Regions from separate parts of the Homo sapiens genome. Here region 1 is linked to region 2. Evidence: promoter capture Hi-C in 16 types of primary human blood cells and fetal thymus (Javierre and others, 2016). All regions are on one chromosome and are shown on one strand. The core of a region is centred on a gene start or on the middle of the fragment in contact, and the rest is flanking DNA. Distances in the headings are between cores, read along the strand shown.

The links. The method cuts DNA at HindIII sites, captures the fragments that hold promoters and counts their contacts. A CHiCAGO score of 5 or more calls a contact.
Region 1: a contact is called between a fragment that was not itself captured here and the fragment with the promoter of EPB41L2 in region 2, in 3 of 17 cell types (M2 macrophages, endothelial precursors and M1 macrophages). The highest score is 7.1, in M2 macrophages.

Annotation. Positions count from the first base shown.
Region 1 is chr6:130,929,988-130,934,341 of GRCh38, reverse strand. All of the region lies in intron 3 of EPB41L2 (erythrocyte membrane protein band 4.1 like 2), which reads left to right. Among named protein-coding and RNA genes, the nearest start is that of SMLR1, 100 kb to the right of the region's middle. RefSeq lists an enhancer at 2,685-2,854. The HindIII fragment of the contact is 4,313 bases long and covers 940-4,354 here.
Region 2 is chr6:131,061,499-131,065,741 of GRCh38, reverse strand. It overlaps EPB41L2 (erythrocyte membrane protein band 4.1 like 2), which reads left to right and starts at 2,497. Exons shown (of 20, transcript NM_001431.4): 1 at 2,497-2,587. LOC105378004 (a long non-coding RNA gene) reads right to left here and starts at 2,339. Exons shown (of 3, transcript XR_942993.3): 1 at 2,126-2,339. RefSeq lists silencers at 2,261-2,600, 2,941-3,040. The HindIII fragment of the contact is 3,039 bases long and covers 1,054-4,092 here.

The DNA.
Region 1 (4,354 bases), core at 1,847-4,346, 130 kb after region 2:
TTTTCTTAAGAATCTTCCTTTACTATATCAATGTCTCATTTACTACTGGAATTATGTTTTTAACACACACACAAAATTGACCAGGGTTTCTTTTTCCTGGGGTTTGAATGAACTTTGGGAAAGAGATGTGTTGACAGCTCCCTTAGATTGGTAAGAAAATAATTATCTGATAAATCACAGCCTTGGATTTGAGACACTCTCTCTTCTTCCGTATGGTTTTATTGGATTCCCATCCTCCTCCCCCAACAATGTATCAGTTGTTGTGTTTGCTCTGTGCATACCTTTCTTTCCTTGGCCTTTTATATTTGCATAGTGTTGTTTGGAGCTAGTGCAAAATACATAGCTTCAGGGCTGTAATGTATAGATTGCATTGTGCGCTTCCCATCATCGTCTCCTCAGCACACAATAACTGCAGTGTGGAGGGCCCTACACGGAGACAGTGATGGTGTTTATAAAACGCCAGTGGTGTGTGGCATTCACTACAATCTGCCGGGTAAGCAGTTGCACAAATTCCTCCAAGTTGAGAGGCCTCCAGAAATGTCATGTTTTGGCCTCAGTGTTGAATGCCACAAATAACAGCACAGGCATGGGGGACTTTGCTCAGCCTCTCAGATTCCAGCCTGCCTTCCTTGGGCTGCATCTGCAGTAGATTTCATTTACTCTTTTTCTTTTTAAATGAAAGTTCCCAAAAGCTAGCATTCTAATTTTTGAATAATGTATTTTGAGCCCATCCAAATTGTCTTGTTTTGTCTCTCTTTTGTGGGTATCTATAATATATAGGTTTTTAAAAAAACTAAAACTCTGATACCTGGAAAGTAGACCAAAGGGCTTTTTTTGTTTATTGTTTTAAAGTTTTCAACCCGTTAACTTTATATTGCTAGTGAGTGGTATAAGTAGGGTTAGGGAGAGGCAGACAGACGAAAAATAGATAGCTAAGCTTGTTGATATTTAATATAGAAAGTTATATTCAAAATATTTCTTTTTGAAGTGTATTTGGCAAGTTTTATTAACAGTTGCATGGTTTTTATTGTTTAATAAACTTGATATCATATTATTAGAATAGAGATTGACTCGGATTGTACTTTATGAAGATTCTACTGTAAGAACAGAAACAAAGCAAAGGCATGCTTCAGATAGCAAGAAGAAATGACAGCGAAAGTGATGTCTTAGTGGAGGAATGTGCAAGACTAGGAAACCCCCTGTCCTTTCTGCATAAAGATGAGGTATGGCCTACTCTTAAGAGGAAGGGGCAGATTGGCTTTTTCCCTCTAGTTCCCAAAATGTATTTGGAAATGCCCTAGTTTACTAAGGAAGAGTATAAGCATAATGTAGAATTGTGAAAATGAAGTGTTGGTCTGTGCTGGTCTTCTCCCAGAAACTAGTTGGCAGTGTGTGTTTGGTTTAGGTCCTTGAACATTATGGGTTGGTAGTCCATCAGCTAGGTAAGGAAGATTGTGTAAGAAACCAGCAGGCCTGAATTCTAGACTCAACTCTGCCAACTTTTTGACTGGCCTTATGGCATTGAGCCGTTCCATCAGCAGCTATCTTTTGGCCTACTAGTCAGCTAATTACTCAGTAGGAGGCATTGAAGTAAGATGTCCTCTTTCTTAAAGAACTCAGTATCTGAAAGTAATAAGTATCAAAAGGAGTAGAATAGAAGAATAAGTGCCATAGATGTGAATAATGCTCTTGAAGGAGAATGATGCAATATTGAGAGATTGGAACAGGCTTCATAGGGAAGGATATTTTGGAGATTTGTATACAAGTAGAGGTAGTTTTGACACTTGTAAATAAATCAGAGGAAAAAAATTAGAATATGTCTTGATAAGTCAGTAAGTGGTTCTCTTTATCTGGGGCAATACCCCAAAATTGCTGTGACAACTAATGAAGCAACTACGTGTACTGGTATCTTAGGTGAAAGTTATGAAGCAAAATTATGTGTATATTTTGCTTGGTTAACAAATGTATATTTGTAGTCCTTTTTATACAGTAGAATTCAAGTTGTTGATTTTTTTTTTTTTAAAAGCAATGTTAATGGAAGAAAATTACTTTCCTGGATAGAAGTGTGGAATATTAGTGTATATTAAGAGCATACATAATAATTTAATTATTTTAAAAGAAATTCAGAAATCAGACTGAAAAATTAGATAAACTTTCTATAACCTTATTTTTCTTATTTGTGAAATAAGAAAGTTTGATTAGATAATGGAAAACTTTAAAATCATATTTAAAATCAATTATTATTTTAGAGCAGCTCAAAAAGGTCTTGTAATTTCAGCTGGCTTTAATGAATCCATGTAATAAGCCAAACATTTTATTGATCACTTTAAACATACTTCATTTAATTATCTCATCACCATTATAAGGTGGGTACTTTTAAAGAGCGGAACTGAGGCATAGAGAAGTTACGTAACTTACTGTGGTTACAGAGCTGTTAAGAGTAGGGCTGGGGGTCAAGCCCAGGACACTGTGATTATACTGCAGTACTTTTCTTCCGTATTGTTAAGAATTGGTGATTCTCAAGAAAGATGGAACATACCAGAATCTCGGGGGAAAGGAAGAACTATTTTGAGGAACAATTTCAACTTACATGCCCCTGTACATTTTTATGTGCTACCATTATGCATTGTGCCTTGGTTCTTCACCCCCACCCCAAAGAGAATTATTATTTATGGAATGTGTTGTGAACAGTGTGAAGACAAAGTTGTGAGCCACTAGATGGTGTTGCTGTCTGAGCCGACCCAATCGAGTTTGATTGAACATTAGTGCTATAAATGTTATAACTTGGAACATTCATATGTAGCATTTAATATGTGTCACCTGATAATCTGATGCTTTTTAGAATATAAGAAGAAATGTACTACTTATTTTGTTTGCCTTTTTGAATAAGCCTCCAAAGCACATCTGTTTTAGGTTTCTTAGGAGTGACTTTTCTGTGTTTTTTTGTTACAATTTTCCTTCTCAGTCCTTCTTTTTATTCCCTAGCTTATGTTTCATTCCCTCTTGTCTTGATGACTTTATTATAGCTATTTAAAAAAATAATGCGTGTTAGAACCTTTTATATGTTGAGTATAAATAATAAATTAGTAGAATAAAATCATTGTAGATTAATAAATTTTATTAATTTTGCTAGGGATTCATTGAGCTTTCTTAATTTGAAGTTTTATAGCGTTGTTTCTTTTAATATTGCCTTTCCCTTATTCTCTCTCATCTCCATCTAGGACTCTGATGAGATATTTGTAGACCCCTCATTCTGTTCTCCATGTCTGTGAAGTTCTTTCATATTGTCCTTCCCTTTGTCTTTCTCAGCCACATTCTGGATAGTTTTTTTCAGATCTATCTTCCAGTTCACTGGTTTTCTCTTCAGCTTTGTCATATCCTGTCCATTTGGATTATAATTTAGTTACTATAGTTTTCATTTCTAGGTGTTTTATTTGATTATTTTCAAAACCTGCTTTTTCATATTCACTTTTTCCTTAGTCATATTTTAAAATATTTCTTATAAACACATAAAACATATATATTTTGTGTTTTGTTCTTGATAATTCTACTATGTGCAGTCTCTGAAGATCTGATTCTGATACTGTGTCTCTCAATAATGGTGTCTGGTTTCCTTGTCGTTTTGTGATTTTTAATGTATGTTTTTTGAGATTTTTGTCTATGAGAATTTCTTGCTTCTCCCAGGCAGCTGGGCATATCTAATCTTGGACCAGTTTAAACTGGATTATCTTTTGGCATTTTTGAATCAAACAGATGTGAATACCAGTGTCTACATCTGCGTTAGAGTCAGATGGTGGTACAGGTTGAGTATCTTTTATCTGAAATGCTTGGGACCAGAAATATTTTGTATTTCAAGTTTTTTCAGATTTTGTAATACTTGAGCACTCCAAATCAAGAAATTGGAAATCCGAAATGCTCCAATGAGCATTTTCTTTGAGCATAATGTTGGCGTTAAAAAACTTTTGGATTTTGGAGCATTTCATATTTTGGGTTTTTGGATTTGGGATGCTCAACCTGTAATTCTTTCCTACCTCATTTAGTGAGGTGTGGTCTTTAAAACAAAAATTCTGTTGTAGAATACATTAGTAAATGTTGTATTAAAAAATAGTGGGCTCTTTTGCTAAATAGTTTTGGGAAACATCAGGTTTCCCAAGTGAAAGGAATAATGGGAAACAGGGTTTTTGCATTGCAGGACTCCTCAGGGTGTCTGTTATACAAATAGGTGTTTTGGTGCTCAGTAATCATATGCAACAAGGAGAATTTTTCTTGTCTCACTCTGCTGCTCTTTTTGGGAATGAGTGGTGTATATAACTCATGGGATGAGTGGGACCAGTGGAAAATAACTTTGGCAAAT
Region 2 (4,243 bases), core at 1,248-3,747:
CCTGTGGACCACGTAAAGGAAGGGCAGGTCCTCAACCCAGAGCCACTCCAACCTGGTTTGGGCTTGGCACACAGAAGGCACAAAGATAAAATGATGACTCATGGATATAGTGAGATCAAGCTCTTCCAGAGGCCACGCCTATGGGGGTGAGTTGGTAAGTAAGGGCACTAAGGAGGTCCTGGGTACATTTCTAGTCCATACTTCCAGACTAACTTTGCTTGCACATAGTGCCCAGGATTGAGGCTATTATGGTAAATTTGGATGTGGTAGCTCTCAGGACTAGTACCTATATTCTTCTCTTGTTCTCTGTGTCAGTCCTTTGCCTGTTACTACAGTGTGTCTAGCAGGAAGACCCAATCTTGTTCTACCTAGAGTGTTTTCCTGGGGATTAACATTCTGCCCTTGAACTGCAGCCTGGTAGTCCTGACAGTGCTTCCGCCTGCCTGAGTCTTTGGATGTCACCTATTCCAGGACTTTGTCCTTCTTTCTGTTCAAACCCCTCTTCTCTTCTTGTTAGACTTCCCTGGTTGTCTGGACTACCACCTGTTGTTTGCTAAATCTCTATGATGCCACTTCCATCAGTTTTCTTCACTTCCTTATAGCTTCTGGGACTTGATTTTTCTGCCCTCAGTTCCTGCTAGGTCCTCACTGAATCTGTTCCATTCCATTAAAATGCCAGGGCTATGTAAGGCTGTGTCCAAAAACAGAGTTCAATTCTTCTTTCACACAATAGCCTTTATACATTTGACAACCTTTTTATCACCTTTAATCATCTCTTTAGGCTAAATCTTGCTGGTTCCCACATTTTCAAGGTCACCCATTTATGGTTATAATTTAGCTTATCAATATTTTCTTTTGGAGGGAAAAATTTCTTCTTAAGAGGTGGCATATAGGAGTGATTCATGTACTTCAACGCAGAGTATAGTAAGCATATCCTTTCTTATGAGAAGGGCATTATATTTTATTAACTATGCCTATATTTATGTTATTTTGCACTAGCATTTTAAAGGGGGCTCCATCAGGGTGGTTCAATGTTTTATGGGCCCAAAAGCTTATATGACTTTAGGGACTCTTTAAAAAACACAAAATGAAATACAAAATTATAAAGTTAGTTTCAAGGCTTGTGAAAATGAGAGATCCCGAAGTTTGTTTCATTAGTTTCGTTGTAAATCTGCTGCATATTTCTTATTATGAGAAAATAATAGTATTTTCTCATTAAATTCCCAGGTCTCCTTTACCAGAATTGCTGTCTAATCAGATTTCTGCTCTGTTTTAGCACACCTTATAAAATTTAACTTGTATACTTAGCATATGGGATTGTGATTAAATTAATACATGTAAGGGACTTAGAACAATGCCTAGCACATAAAGCACACAATCAACCTTAACTATTATTATTTGTATTATTTACTAGAAGGACCTTGGCAAATAATTTATCTTCCCAAATCTTTTTGATGTAATGGAGCTCAAACGTGCCTGCCTTTTTCATAGGGTGATTGTGAGGATCAAATGATGATAAAATATGTGAATGTATTTTGTTAACTGGAAGGTATTGTTACTGAGGTTTCATTTGACATTGTTAATTTTGGAAAAGGTTCTGTTTAGGAAAGAAAGGGAGACGACTTTGGCTGTGGTGGAATCACTAAAGACCTCAATAAAAGTGGGAGGAGTAAAAGGGATAAGAGGTGCGTGTGAGGCAGATGCTGGAGGCAGTGAGCTGGACACGTTGTTTGACACCAGCTTGACGTGCAAACCTTCAAAAGATGAAATATATTGAATCTGAAACATATTGACCTCATTGTACAAAAGAAAAGAACCAGAAGGGTAGCGTGTGTGTGCTTGTGGCTTTCCACAATTTAGCCCCAAACTAGGTTTTTTCCAGACTCTTCTTCACCCGTGGTCATGCTCTGCAATCCAGATTCCCAGGCCTCTGCCCAGAGAAATCCTACTTACTCTGGGGAGGCCTTTCCTCCACGGGGTTTCCCCAACCCCTCCTGTCCCTCCCACAGGAAGAATAAATGGTTCCTTTTCAATGCCCTTCCTGTGAAAGCACTTTTTCCACTCTAGACTGAGGGAGACCCAGTTTTCCTTATTCTGCATCTCCAGGCTCTGCTCCAGTGTTTACCTCTAGGAAGGCGCTCAGTGAAGGTTTAGTCAGCAAATGCACTTTGAATAAATAACTTTTAAAAGTTGAGAGGACATTTAAGGCCGGGAATCGCAGTTGAGAACGCCTTGCCCAGGCGCATTAGCTGTCATCCGGGCTGCCCTGAGGGCGAAAGACGTCCTCCACCCCCGGGTCTCCGCGGCCGCGCTTGCCGAATCCCGCGGGAAAGGTCCCCCGCCCGCGCAGGGGCGGGGCCTGGGCGTCGGGGGCGGGACCGCCCGCGGGGGTTTCCGCGCCGGGGGCTCGTCCGGCGGGGTCGCGGGAGGGGCTTCCGCCGCGAGGGGGCGGGGCCGGCCCTCAGAGTCCTCTGACGGCCCCAGTCAGGGAATTTCAATTTGAAACCTAGCGGAGGGAGGAGGCAGGCGCGGCTGCCGGCGGCTGGGACTGAAGAGGGACGGGTCCCGCGGCGAGCGAGCTCCTGAGGTACGGCGTCGGGGTAAGGAGGCGTGCGGGGCTGCACGGGCCGGGCGACTGGTCAGTGTGGGGTTGCAGGGGCGGCTCAGATTTTTCCTCTGGCTGCAGCTGGGAAGCTGATTCCGGGCAGGAAGCGGTGGCGGGACGGTCCCACCGGGATGGGGGGCGGGGAGAGGGGGCCCGGCTTTGGGATTTTCTGCGGCTCCCTCTCTCCTTTCCTTCCCGGTCTCTGCCCGACCCGATTCTTGCCCGGGGGTCCGGGTCCTGTTGCTCCGGGCCGGATCCCGGCTTCGCTGCTCCCCGCGGTCCCCCTCTTCCCTCTTCCGGGGGACCGGGGCCGCGTCCCGGCGGAGCCAGGAAAGGCGGGGGCACGGGGAGGACGCCGTCCCCCCCGGGGTGCCGTGGGCTCAGGTCACGCGTCCGGGCCCCGTGGAGCAACAGCGGGAAAAATCCGGCTCCATCCCCCCCGCGGGGAGGGGGTCGGCCGCGGCGTCGCCCTTCAGGAGGAAGGTTTTAGGAGGGGAAGCGCGGGCCGGCCGCGCGCGTGGGGACTGCGGGAAGCCGGGCGAGGGCGGCGCGCCAGCCCCACGCGCGGTGCGGGTCGGGCCCGCTGTAGGCTCGCGTCCGCGCCCCCAGCTGCCGCCTGCGCCGTCTGGGAGCTGCGGAGAGGGACGCGTGTTTCGTGCTCCGATCCTTACAATTCCCACACCCAGGCCATCTCACCACAGATGGCTTGTTTTTTCTCCTCCTGCGCCTGGGGGCCGAGGGTTGGGAGCATTTTTAGGTGAGCAGCGGGGAAGGGCGAGGAGAACCTAAAGGAGCGCGACAGGGTTGAAGTCGGCGTCTGGGGACGCCATCCCCAGGCGCAGACGCTGCCCCCAGCAGCCTGAGGTCTGTGGTGGGACATCAGTTATGCTTCTCTAGATCGCTCACCTCCCCTGAGGTCAAGTTTTTTTTTTTATATATATGTATAAATAAAATGAGGTTTGGTGAGAAGAACTACTGCCTAGAGTCTATTATTTTGGGGAGGGGTCTGCGTATGGAGCCCTCCCTACGGACCCGGGTAGTCTTTCATTGAATTGCCCCATCAACACCACAGCTGCCCTTAATTTTAAGATCCCTGGGTGGATGGGAGAGAAGGTGGAATCTAGAGGAGCTGTGGCTATATTTTCGCTTTTCTGAATCACATCTTTCCCCAGTTTCTTGAACTTCTTGCCTCTGAAATGGCATGTGTGTGCCAGGCGTCTTGTTCCTCTTGTTACTGTTATTTAAGCTGTTTTAAAAAAACGACTTTCGCGGTTTTCCCCTCAGTTTTTCAGTCTTTATTTCCTCCCCCACCCTACGTTTTTATTGTTTTTTTCAACGGAATACATTATTTATCTGGTCTCTTTATAACGCTGTTGAGAATTAGCATTTCAGTTGGTGTTCTGTCAGATTTCACCTTGGACTTAGCAGTTGAGGGAAACTGAGTCAGTTTCTATGCTGCAGGGGCTAGGATTTAGAATTCTCAAGCTTTGAACAGGTTTCAGTGGGGGAACGAATAGTGCTTAATCCTATTCAGTTTCCCTTTGCAGGCTCATTGCTGTGAGAAATCACTGGGTGGCTGTTGCAGCCACTGATGGGGGCTGCATTGCAATGCAATCTTGAATTGTGATAAGGGCCAAC